4 separate regions of the Homo sapiens genome follow, and all the other regions are linked to region 2. The links are contacts of gene promoters, found by promoter capture Hi-C in human tissues and cell types (Jung and others, 2019). All regions are on one chromosome and are shown on one strand. Each heading gives the region's core, a stretch centred on a gene start or on the middle of the fragment in contact. The rest is flanking DNA. Distances are from core to core; before and after follow the strand shown.

Region 1 (3,026 bases), core at 90-2,589, 210 kb after region 2:
ACGGTGGCACAGCACGTAGGGAAGAAGCCTGCATTCAAACCCAGGCAGTCTGACCCACAGCCCACCTGCTAAGCACTGCCCTGTACTGCCTGCCAAGCACAACTAGCCACTTACCGACCATTCTCTCCAGAGCCCCATGAGAGACAGAAGAGGAGGAATTCTCCTCCCACTTTCACAGACATAGTAACAGGACAGGTGAAAGTCATAAAACTCAAATTTCTGGACCCTGGTCTGCCCTGAGACAGCCTCTTTTTCTTTTTCTTTTTCTTTTTAATGGGGGGGAAGAAAGAGGGCCCATTTTTCTATTCACACAAAGGCACCCAGGAACAGAGGCCTTGCATGGACCTCTCCTCCCATTTACCTGATACCATCAGTGGGGCTGCCCCCTACCCCAAGACCCAAGATCTTCAGTCTAGACAGTCCTCACTTTTCCTACCACCCCAAGGGTTATCAGGCTCTGTAGCACAAGCCTCTCAGCCTCTCCTTGACCCCTCCAGGCCTTTGCTCTCACCTCTTAGACGCAAGCCAGGATCTTCACTTTTTTTTGAGAAAGAGTCTCACTCTGCCGCCCAGGCTGGAGTGCAGTAGCGCAATCTCCACTCACTGCAACCTCTGCCTCCCGAGTTCAAGCGATTCTCCTGCCTCAGCCTCCCAAGTAACTGGGACTACAGGCGCGTGCCACCATGCCCAGATCATTTTTTTTTTTTTTGTATTTTTAGTAGAGATGGGGTTTTACCATGTTAGCTGGTCTCGAACTCCTGATTTTGTTATCCACCTGCCTCGGCCTCCCAAAGTGCTGGGATTACAGGTGTGAGCCACCGTGCCCAGCTGGATCTTCACTTTTATTTTATTTTATTTTATTTTATTTATTTATTTTATTTTTTGGAACATGGAGTCTCACTCTGTCGCCCAGGCTGGAGTGCAATGGCATGATATCGACTCACTGCAACCTCCATCTCCCCGGTCCAAGCGATTCTCCTGCCTCAGCCTCCCGAGTAGCTGGGATAACAGGCGCCTGCCACCATGCCCAGCTAATATTTTTGTATTTTATTAGTAGAGATGGGGTTTTGCCATGTTGGCCAGGCTGGTCTTGAACTCTTGACCTCAGGCCATCCGTCCACCTCAGCCTCCCAAAGTGCTGGGATTACAGGCGTGAGCCACTGCACCGGGTTGATCCTTTTAGCTACCACCCCAGCTTGACCCCAGGATCGGGATATGCCAGATTGTTTTGTAGGATTTGCTGCCACCATTTGGTCAAATTTGGTATGACAATTCCAAAGCTACCAGCTTTCCCAGGGCAACTTGTTCTTTCCCCAACTTCCATGAAGGCAGTGCACTGCCTCCCTACCCTCGTCCCCATCTTTTTCTTGTTTGTTTGATGTTGTTTTTCGAAACAGGGACTCACTCTGTCACCTAGGCTGGAGCGCAGTGGTGCAATCATAGTTCACTGCAGCCTTAAACTCCTAGGCTCAAGCGATCCCACTTCAGCCTCCTGAGTAGCTAAGACTACAGGTACACATCACCATGCCTGGGTATTTTTTAAAAATTTTTTACAGAGATGGGGACCTCACTATGTTGCCCAGGCTGCTCTTGAACTCCTGGCCTCAAGCAATCCTCCCACCTTGCCCCAGCCTACCACCATTCTGGATTTTGTTTGTTTGTAAGTTTGTTTTTTTGAGATGAAGTCTCGCTCTCGTCCCCTAGGCTGGAGCGCAATGGCACGATCTCGGCTCACTGCAACCTCCACCTGCCGGGTTCAAGCGATTCTCCTGCCTCAGCCTCCCGAGTAGCTGGGATTACAGGCGCCTGCCATCACGTCCGGCTGATTTTTGTATTTTTAGTAGAGATGGGGTTTCTCCATGTTGGCCAGGCTGGTCTCGACCTCCTGACCTCAGGTGATCCGCCCACTTCGGCCTCCCAAAGTGCTGGGATTACAGGCATGAGCCACCACTCCCGGCTGTTTGTTTGTTTTGAGATGGAGTTTTGCTCTCGTTGCCCAAGCAGGAATGCAATGGAGTGATCTCAGCTCACCACAACCTCCACCTCCCGGGTTCAAGCGATTCTCCTGCCTCAGCCTCCCCCGTAGCTGGGATTACAGGCATGCGCCACCATGCCCGGCTAATTTTGTATTTTTAGTAGAGACGGGGTTTATCCATGTTGGTCAGGCTTGTCTCGAACTCCCGACCTCAGGTGATCCGCCCACCTCGGCCTCCCAAAGTGCTGGGATTACAGGCATGAGACACCGGCCCGGCCACCATTCTGGTTTTAAAAGAAGTCCATGGCCATTGGCATCAAGCTTTTTAGCATTTCTCAGTGAATACTGGGAAAGCCTTTACTGTCTGATTTCACTCTTTGCTGCTGCAATTCATATTTATTCCCTAAAGGAAAAACAGTATCAACACTTTACATCTGTATAGGTTTTTCACTATTTCAAGTGCTTTCATGTCTACGAGTCATTCAATAAGCATTTCCTGAAGATATAATATCAGCTGGGTACCAGAGATACCAAGCTAGATAAAATACTCTATCATTTCTTCTCACAGTAACCCTGTAGGTAGGCTAGGATTTTAAACCTCATTTAACAAATGAGGAAACACACACACAAAGATTAAATAACCTGCCTAAAGTGTCATAAAGCTTGAGCCAGAACCTAACCCTTCTAATTTCCAGCTCTGTCTGCTCCACTAACCAGCCCAGGCTGCTGGAAATATCACTGGTAACCTTCTAGGGAGGAGATTGGAGTTGTTTTGGAACTCCTAGTGCTTCCTCTGGCCCCAAATGACACCTCCAGGCAGACTGAGGCAGACCTCCCCCAACCAATGGCCCAGCTCCCGCCCCCACCCTGCACACATACACAGTGTCACCCGTTCTCTGTTTGCAGCCTATCTCCTGAGCTGCCACTTTCCCCGTCGTCCAGCTTATGGAGATGTGACTGTCACCAGCCTCCACCCAGGGGGTAGTGCCCGCTTCCATTGTGCCACTGGCTACCAGCTGAAGGGCGCCAGGCATCTCACCTGTCTCAATGC
Region 2 (2,851 bases), core at 194-2,693:
CTCAAGTGATCTGCCCACCTCAGCCTCCCAAAGTGCTGGGATTACAGGCATAAGCCACCATGCCTGGCCTCAAATGTCATGTTTTTGAAGCTGCTCTTCTCACTCCTCAAGCCAAATAAGCCTCCCATCATAGCACCTATCTCATCATCCAAGTAATGCCAGCATGGTGAACCCTACTACTGTCACAGCTCAGGTCTACCTGTTCCCCATGTGATTTCCCTGGAGATATGCCATGTCTGATCTCCTTCTGTGTCACCCCAAGTGCCTGGGGCTGCACTTGGCACTTAGCAGGCAGTTTGTTAAATTGAATTTGAGTTGCATGTTATTCCAAAATGTGTATCCCGCCTGGGTCTATTCCTCAGGAACTCCCTAACTCTTACTCAACTCTCTGCTTTCTGAGCCTCCTTGCTCCAGCCTTCCCTGGTCTGTCAGGTTGGGCTGCCCTTGCCTGGAGAAGTTCCTGTTTGGGCTGTCTAGGGAGGTAGCAGCATTTGTCTGCTACACCCTTCTTCCTGCACCACCCCACTCAGTTTCTTCCACATTCTGGCACACCCCACTCCAGCATGGACACTGCCCAGGGAAGTGTCCCCATTTCTTTCTTTCTCCAAACTCTAGACATAGCACCTATCTTGGAGGCCTGGTATCTGGATGTCCCTTGGCCTCTCCCAGGAAGTATAAACTGTCTTCTTGGTGGGTACAGCAGCTCACTTGATATTTACAGCACACAGTGGACCCAGGGACAGACTGCATTCCAAAGAGCTTCTGAAAGTGTTAATCTTGGCATTGGTGAACTCCTTTAGGGAGTGAGTGGCACTTACAGCCATGGCTCCCGGGCCCTGGTACGCCTCTTGATCCACTCCATTTTGAGGCAGGGCTGTATCAGACCAAGCTATTGGGAGTCTGTTTTTACCTTGGGGAGTGCATTCTGGCAGTGCCATCTCGGACATGGCAGGCAGTACCTGGTCTGGACTGAGCCTGGGGCACCATCCAGCAGGGCCCTGTGTGTGCCTCTGCAGAGCCACCTTGGGAGGAGGCGGCCAGTAAGACTTAATTGCTTCCTTTAGACAGCACTACCTTGAACACAGCCTGCAGAGTTCGGTGCCTGCCTTGGACAGCCCCTCTTCTATACGTTCATCATGACCCTGGTGCCTGTCCTAGGCAGTGCCACTCAGCCCCTTTCGGACCCTTTTCGGACAGCCTCCAGTGCCCAGTGCAGACAGAAACTCCAGGCAGGGCCTCTCTCAGACACAGCGAGAGGGGCTTCGGAGTCCACAGCGGACGGAGGCTGCCAGGGCAGCGCCCGGCCCGCCTGGCCCACGTCTGGCGGCGCGCACTGGCGCTGCCAGGCAGGCCGGGCGTTTATCCCCACAGCCGCCAGCAGGGAGCTCCCTTTCGGCTCGGCCTGCGCGGTCGCTGGGGGCGGCGCTGAGCTGCGCCGCGCTGCGCTCTGCTCCATCCCTGACCGGGCCGAGGCTGCTGGATGCCGCGTCTCCGCTTCTGCTGCCTGCCGGGCGGGCTCCGGTGGCCGGTGAGTGCCGGTCGGCGGCGGCGGCCGCTCGGTGGCGGGCCCGGCTTGGTGGGGCGGCGGGGCGGGCTCCGGCCGGGAGGGAGGGCGGGCGGGCGGCGGGGCCCGCCGGCTCCTCCTCCTCCTCCCCCGTCCCCTGGAAGCAGCGGCCCGGACTCCCGGCTCCCGTCCCTGGCGGCGCCGTGGAGCTCGACGCCCGGGGGTGGGGGCCGATCGGGAGCGGCGGGGAAGGGGGAACCACCGGCCCTTCCAGCCAACCTGGGGGGCGCAGGGAGGCAGGACAGGGTGGCCTTCAGTGTGGGGGGATTTGGGGCTTGGAGGCGCCCAGGTGGCCCGGAGCTGCGGGGTGGGGGCTGCAGCCTCGAGGGTGGGGGGACTTCTCCTGCCCCCGTCCAGGCCCCACGATGGAGCGAGCGAGAGAGCGGGGCGCTGAGGAAGGCAGCGGGGAAGGGGAGCACCTCTACCGACCCTTTTATCCCTCCCAGCGGCCTTCACTCTTTCACTGCCGGGCAGACTGCGGGCTCCTCTCAAAGGAGCAGCTGCTAGACAGCTGGCAAAACAATGGAGACCCCGCTTCCCTGGGCCCCCTCCTCTTGGGACAGAAGATGAGAGGGTGAATGGTGGCAGGCTTTGGGGATTAGGGAGTGCAGGCTGTGCCCTGAGACTGAATGCTCACCTCACCTTTCCCTGCAGAGGGGTGGGGTGCGTGTGGGAAGGTCGGACAAGCTGCCCCAGGCCTCTGGAGAGACCGCCCCGACGCCCCGCCCTGCTAACCTGTCATGCCAGTTGTTTCGCCAATGGGAAGGGGAGGTGGTAGGGGTGGCTGCCCCCTCACCCTGCCCCTTGTTAGTGGGGGTGCGCTCCTTGGTCCCAAACCCGGCCAGGAGTGTGGGTCATGTTCCTGGGTGCGATAAGGCCCGCAGGGACAGGCCAGGCATTGGGGCTTTGTTTTGGGGGTGGAGATGGGGGAGTTGCCCTACTGCAAGGCACATGTGTCTTGCTGATTAGTTGGAAAGGTTGCGGCCAGAATGAGCTAGAGGTGGGGGGTGGGGGAGATGGGGAGGAAGACAGCCAGTTTGTTTTTGAGCGGGTATTCATTTTGCCTGACCACTTTGCCAATGGGGCATGTGTTTGGCGCTGGCCTCATAGTTTGTATTTGTGTGGGGAGGGCTGGGGGAATGCTTCCTGAGAGGGACTGTCCTGGCTAGGGCTTTCATTCCCTCAGATGGCCACCCCGAATTAAAGAATTGGATTCCCTCCCTGCTTCACCCTGCCAATGACTTGGGCTAGTTAGTGTGGGTTCGTCTTGTCTTTTGGAGCCCCTGG
Region 3 (2,750 bases), core at 120-2,619, 250 kb after region 2:
TCAATAAATATTGACTGATGTAGAAGGAAATGCGCAGCCTTGAGGTTAAGGAGGGTACCCTGATGGATATTTCACTGTGTACCCCAGAAATAAGAAGACTACTAAAGGTTCTTAAAAAACAACTTGGGCTCTGAAGCATATCCTGAGAGTGAACCAAAAACAAAACAACAACAACAAAAATAGCTTAGGCTCAAGATTTCAAAGAGCCAGGAAACTTTGATTTGGGTTCCAGTTCTGCTACTTAGTGGCTTTAGATAAGTCAGTTTCCTCACCTGTATGATGGGAATAAGAATTATCTCACAGTATGGTAGTGAAGATCAAATAAGAACATCTGTTAAAATACTTTGTGAACTGTAATACCTAGATGTCAATGAAATTATCACTATGCTATTTCTAGGCTTTAGTTTAAGAAACACATTGATGTCTTTACAAAAGCAGCATTGTCTCATTATAGTGTTTTCACTGCTAAGCAGCTGAAACTCTGGTAGAGTAATCTCAGTGTTACGTGACTTTTAACTTTTAATGATTTTTTCTTATAAAGGACGGCCTCCAGGACCCTGTCTTCATTGATACATGAGGATGAGAGGGAGCGAGGGCAGAGCCTTTTTTTCTTGACAGGCATATCATGATTTAAAGACTCTGGTGTGCATGTAATTGTTTTCAGAGTTGCACGCTAGGCTTATGGGAATACCATTCTTCCAAGGAAGAAGGGGTTTTTGTTTTTGTTTTTGGGAAGAATCTCCTGTCACCCAGGCTAGAGTGCAGTGATGCGGTCTCGGCTCACTGCAACCTCCACCTCCTGGGTTCAAGCAATTCTCTTGCCTCAGCTTCCCCAGTAGCTGGGACTACAAGTGCACACCACCACACCCAGCCAATTTTTGTGTTTTTAGTAGAGACAGGGTTTTGCCATGTTGGCCAGGCTGGTCTCGAATTCCTGACCTAAAGTGACCCACCCACCTTGGCCTCCCAAAGTGCTGGGATTACAGGCGTGAGCCACCACACCCAGCTGCGGAAGGAGTTTTGAGATGGGCAGCTGAGGTGGGGAGTCCTCAGAATAAGTACATGAGTACCGTGAGGCTGCAGAATCTCCTTTCTCCCTGGAATCCTTTCCCTGTCAGCAGTATTTCTGATATGGAGCAAAACAGCCTCTTTCAGAATTGGTTCCTGAGCTTACCCCAATGACAGTGTCTTTCCTGGAACCATTTCATGAATCCCTTTCCTCTAAAAAATTTGCATTGAGCCAGGCGTGTTGGCTCACACGTGTAATCCCAGCACTTTGGAAGGCAGAGGCAAGCGGACCATTTGAGCCCAGGAGTTCAAGACCCAGCCTTCGGCAACATAGTGAAACCCTATTTCTACAAAAAATATAAAATTTAGCCCAGCGTAGTGGTATGCGCCTGTGGTCCCAGCTACTCGGGAGGCTGAGGTGGGAGGACTGCTTGAGCCTAGGGGGTCAAGGCTTCAGTGAGCCAAGATTGCCCCACTGCACTCCAGCCTGGGTGACAGAGTGAGACCCTGCCTCAAAAAAAAGATAGAAGTTTGAATTGAAAAGCTGCCTTCTAAATAGCTTGAAAGGAATTAATTGCTTGAAGCAGAGAGGAAACATGGTCATGAGAAAGCTTTATGATGGGTGATTCTTGTGTTCCAGCTATGCCTATGATGATCATTTTCTAAGACCTTTCTTTCCTATCCATCTAATCTTAGATATTACTGCCTTCTCCCAAGATACCATCATTTCAAATTTGTTATTTCAAGATGCATGTTCTGTCCCTAAGAAAGCAGCAAATCTTGGCCAGGCACAGTGGCTCACACCTGTAATCCCAGTACTTTGGGAGGCCGAGGTAGGCAGATTACTTGAGGTCAGGAGTTCGAGACCAGCCTGGCCAACATGGTGAAACCCCATCTCTAAAAAAAAAACAAAAATTAGCTGGACATGGGGGCAGGCACCTGTAATCCCAGCTACTCGGGAGGCTGAGGCAGGAGAATCACTTGAACCCAGGAGGCAGAGGTTGCAGTGAGCCGAGATCACGCCACTGAACTCCAGCTTGGGTGATACGGTGAGACTACATCTCAAAACAAACAAAAAAAAAGCAGATCTTAAGAAGTGATGGCCTCAGCCAGGTGCAGTGGCTCACGCCTGTAATCCCAGTACTTTGGGAGGCTGAGGTGGGTGGATCACTTGAGGTTAGGAGGTCAAGACCAGCCTGGCCAACATGGTGAAACCCCATCTCTACTAAAAATATAAAAATTAGCCGGGTGTGATGGCGGGCAACCTGTAATCCCAGCTACTCGGGAGGCTGAGGCAAGGGAATCGCTTGAACCCTGGAGGCAGAGGTTGCAGTGAGCCAAGATCGCGCCACTGCACTCCAGCCTGGGCAACTGAGCAAGACTCCGTCTCAAAAAAAAAAAAAAAAAGGAATGATGGCCTCAGTCTTTTAAATGTTTTGTCTTCATCTGGGAGACAATGCTTGGGTTTCCCTGGACTACTCCCTAAATTCATAGCCCCTATCCATACTTTAGGGCAGGCTTAACAAAGGGAGCCTGTGGTCATTATCTAGAGTTCTGAGGAATGTGTGGTTTTGTTTGTTTGTTTTTTGTTGTTGTTATTTTTGAGACAGGGTCTCACTCTGTTGCCCAAACTGGAGTGCAGTGGCACGATCACGGCTCTACCTCCCAGGCTCAAGTGATCCTCTCACCTCAGCCCCACAAGTAGCTGGGGCTATAGGCTCATGCCGCCTCACCTGGCTAAT
Region 4 (2,885 bases), core at 51-2,550, 150 kb after region 2:
GAGGACCCACCTAGTTAAGGGAAAAAGAGGACAAAGAACTGCCTCTCCCAGCCTTTGCCTTCTAGGGAGTGGCTATGATTCAGCTAAAGAAAGAAAAAGAGGAATAAATCAAGGGAAGGAGGGGGAAAATGGACTATGGAGGGAGGACAGGAGATCAAAGACCAAGGAAGTAAGGAGGAAGAGAAAGCCCCCGCTGCTTCCGCAAATCAATTCCTGGCAATGCCTGCCTCTTCGTCTGTGCTCTAAGCTCCTGAGCAGAATGCCACCTCTGTGGGATGCCAGGCCTGAACAGAAGGGCTCTGGGGCACTGGGCAGGCATGCAGGCCAGGCTGCAGGGACCCCAGGCCTGCCTTGCCCTGAAGAGAGAGGTCTCCCTTCCCCAGGACCACCCTCTCACCATCCACACTTGAAGTCCTCTCCAAAATCTAGTTTCACCGCTTGCTTTGGCAGACTCCTTCCTCCTGTTCCAAACTTGGGAATTCTGAGGTGTCTCTTGGCTGCTGCGCATAAGTCCCAGTTCACAGCTGCAACTTGGGGGACTGAGGGTGGACACAATGAGCAGCTTCCCCACAGGGAGTCAGCAGAGGAAGGAGGCTGGGAAACTGAAGTATAGGAATGAGTGACTTAGGATGGAGACGCACTGCTAGTTATTAGGAACATCCCTCTCACTCCTCGGTCCCTTGTTCCTTCCCCAGTGGGGACTATCCACTCTGTTTCCCTCCCAGAGATGTCATCTCTCTTGGTGCTCTCCCACATGCGAAAGTGTGCTGCTGGTTACTGAGGGAATGGGCGTTTCCTGTACTGGCCATTACAGGAGATAAAAGAGCCACCCAAATCAGTGAAGTCCATGGGAATGAGAGGACCTACTAGAAACCACACACTCTGTACCCTTTGATCAACAGTTCCTCTCTCTCCAACCCCCTCCCTGAGCCTGTGGTGACCATCATTTTTTTTTTTTGAGTTTCGCTCTTGTCACCCAGGCTGGAGTACAGCGGTGCAATCTTGGCTCACTGCAACGTCAGCCTCTTGGGTTCAAGTGATTCTCCTGTCTCCGCCTCCCAAGTAGCTGGGATTACAGGTGCCTACCACCATGCCCGGCTAATTTTTTGTATTTTTTAGTAGAGATGGGGCTTCTCCATGTTGGTCAGGCTGGTCTCAAACTCCTGACCTCAGGTGATCCGCCCGCCTCAGCCTCCCAGAGTGCTGGGATTACAGGCATGAGCCACCGCGCCCAGCCACCATTATTCCACTCTCTACTTCCATGACTTTAACTTTTTTGGATTTCACATATAAGTGAGATCATGTGATGGATTTGTTAATTAGCCTGACTTAATCATTCCACATTGTAAACATATATTGAAACATCAGGCCGGGCACAGTGGCTCATGTCTGTAACCCCAAAACTTTGGGAGGCTGAGAAGAGAGGACCGCTTGAGGCCAGGAGTTTGAGACCAGTCTGAGCAACAAAGCAAGACCCCCATCTCTACAAAAAATAAAACAAAATAAAATTAGCCAGGCACGGTGCGGCATGCCTGTGGTCCCAGCTACTCAGGAGGCTAAGGCGGGAGGACTGCTAGGAGTTCGAGACTGCTGGGAACTATAATCGCACCACTGCACTCCAGCCTGGGTGACAGTGGGACCCTGTCTCTAAAATAAAAATAAAATAAAAGTATCACAATGTACCCCATAAATATATATACAATTATTATTTGTCAATTAAAAATAAAATTTTAATCTGGGCACAGTGGCACATGCATATAGTCCCAACTTCTCAGGGGCTGAGGTGGGAAGATCACTTGATCCCAGGAGTTCAAATCTAGCCTAAGCAATGCAGCAAGACCCCATCTCTTAAAAAGCAAACAAACCAACCAATACTTTTTTTTTTTAATTTAGAAAAAAGAAGAACTCAGGCAAAAGACCTGGTGGAATCTGATATGCATCAACGGTACTCTGGGGGGTCTCAGGGAAGCTTCCACGAATGAGGGTTATGTGGCGGGGTCTGATGGTGGCGCCCCAAGCCAGGCTGGGCAGGGGAGGAAGAGGGCTAGGAAATAAGGTGGACTGGAACAGAGATGGTCGTCCCAAGAGGGGAGATGAAATAGGTTCAAGGCCAGCTGGGAGGGGTGGCTGCTACCAGACTGTGGAATAGAAATAGGCTGGGAATAAGAGCTCATACACACGTAGACCAGCTCATTGAAGTGGGAAAAATACAAATGAGCTAATACACACAGTGCATCCTATGCTCCAGGAATTGCTCTGAGAACCGGAGTATATTTACTTATTTAATCTCACCACAATCCTATGGAGTCGGTACTATTGTTAACACCTCCATTTTACACACGAGGAAAGTGAGGCTTGGTGAGAGGATTCAGAACACAGCCGCCTTCCTCCAGAGTCTGTGCTCGTAACCACCCTCCTCCAGAATAGGAGCCTAGGTAGGCAAAGTCATGAAGACTCAGGGAGGGGGAGAATGGCACTGCACTTAAGAACGTGAACTTCTGGACCCGGTAGCCTGACTCTTACCCTCGGTCTGACCTTGGATAGGATCCTTAGCACTAAGGTCGGCCTGCAGAGAGACACGAAGAGTGACTGGAAGCATGTTGGTAAAAACACAGGCACAGTGCTGTCCCTGAGCTCAGTCAGGGGAAGTTTTTTTTTTGTTTTTTTTGAGATGGAGTCTCCCTCTGTTGCCCAGGCTAGAGTGCAGTGGCATGATCTCGGCTCACTGCAAGCTCCACTTCTTGGGTTCACGCCATTCTCCTGCCTCAGCCTCCCAAGTAGCTGGGACTACAGGCGCCTGCCACCACGCCTGGCTAATTTTTTGTATTTTGTTTAGTAGAGATGGGGTTTCACCGTGTTAGCCAGGATGGTCTCGATCTCCTGAC

What was found. Contacts are between HindIII fragments. The study calls those that stand out against the background at their distance.
Region 1: a contact is called between a fragment that was not itself captured here and the fragment with the promoter of MYO18A in region 2, in 1 of the 25 tissues and cell types used here (adrenal gland).
Region 3: a contact is called between a fragment that was not itself captured here and the fragment with the promoter of MYO18A in region 2, in 2 of the 25 tissues and cell types used here (H1 embryonic stem cells and dorsolateral prefrontal cortex).
Region 4: a contact is called between a fragment that was not itself captured here and the fragment with the promoter of MYO18A in region 2, in 2 of the 25 tissues and cell types used here (IMR-90 fibroblasts and lymphoblastoid cells).

Annotation. Positions count from the first base shown.
Region 1 is chr17:28,964,003-28,967,028 of GRCh38, reverse strand. It overlaps SEZ6 (seizure related 6 homolog), which reads left to right. Exons shown (of 17, transcript NM_178860.5): 5 at 2,882-3,026. The region is part of intron 1 of LOC105371716 (a long non-coding RNA gene); the gene reads right to left. Among named protein-coding and RNA genes, the nearest start is that of PHF12, 14 kb to the right of the region's middle. The HindIII fragment of the contact is 3,586 bases long and covers 1-3,026 here.
Region 2 is chr17:29,178,990-29,181,840 of GRCh38, reverse strand. MYO18A (myosin XVIIIA) reads left to right here and starts at 1,443. Exons shown (of 42, transcript NM_078471.4): 1 at 1,443-1,528. RefSeq lists silencers at 1,364-1,584, 1,550-1,599, 1,720-1,769. The HindIII fragment of the contact is 14,487 bases long and covers 1-2,851 here.
Region 3 is chr17:28,930,922-28,933,671 of GRCh38, reverse strand. All of the region lies in intron 2 of PHF12 (PHD finger protein 12), which reads left to right. The region is part of intron 1 of LOC101927018 (a long non-coding RNA gene); the gene reads right to left. Among named protein-coding and RNA genes, the nearest start is that of PHF12, 19 kb to the left of the region's middle. The HindIII fragment of the contact is 7,253 bases long and covers 1-2,750 here.
Region 4 is chr17:29,025,085-29,027,969 of GRCh38, reverse strand. No RefSeq gene overlaps it. Among named protein-coding and RNA genes, the nearest start is that of PIPOX, 17 kb to the left of the region's middle. The HindIII fragment of the contact is 5,150 bases long and covers 1-2,885 here.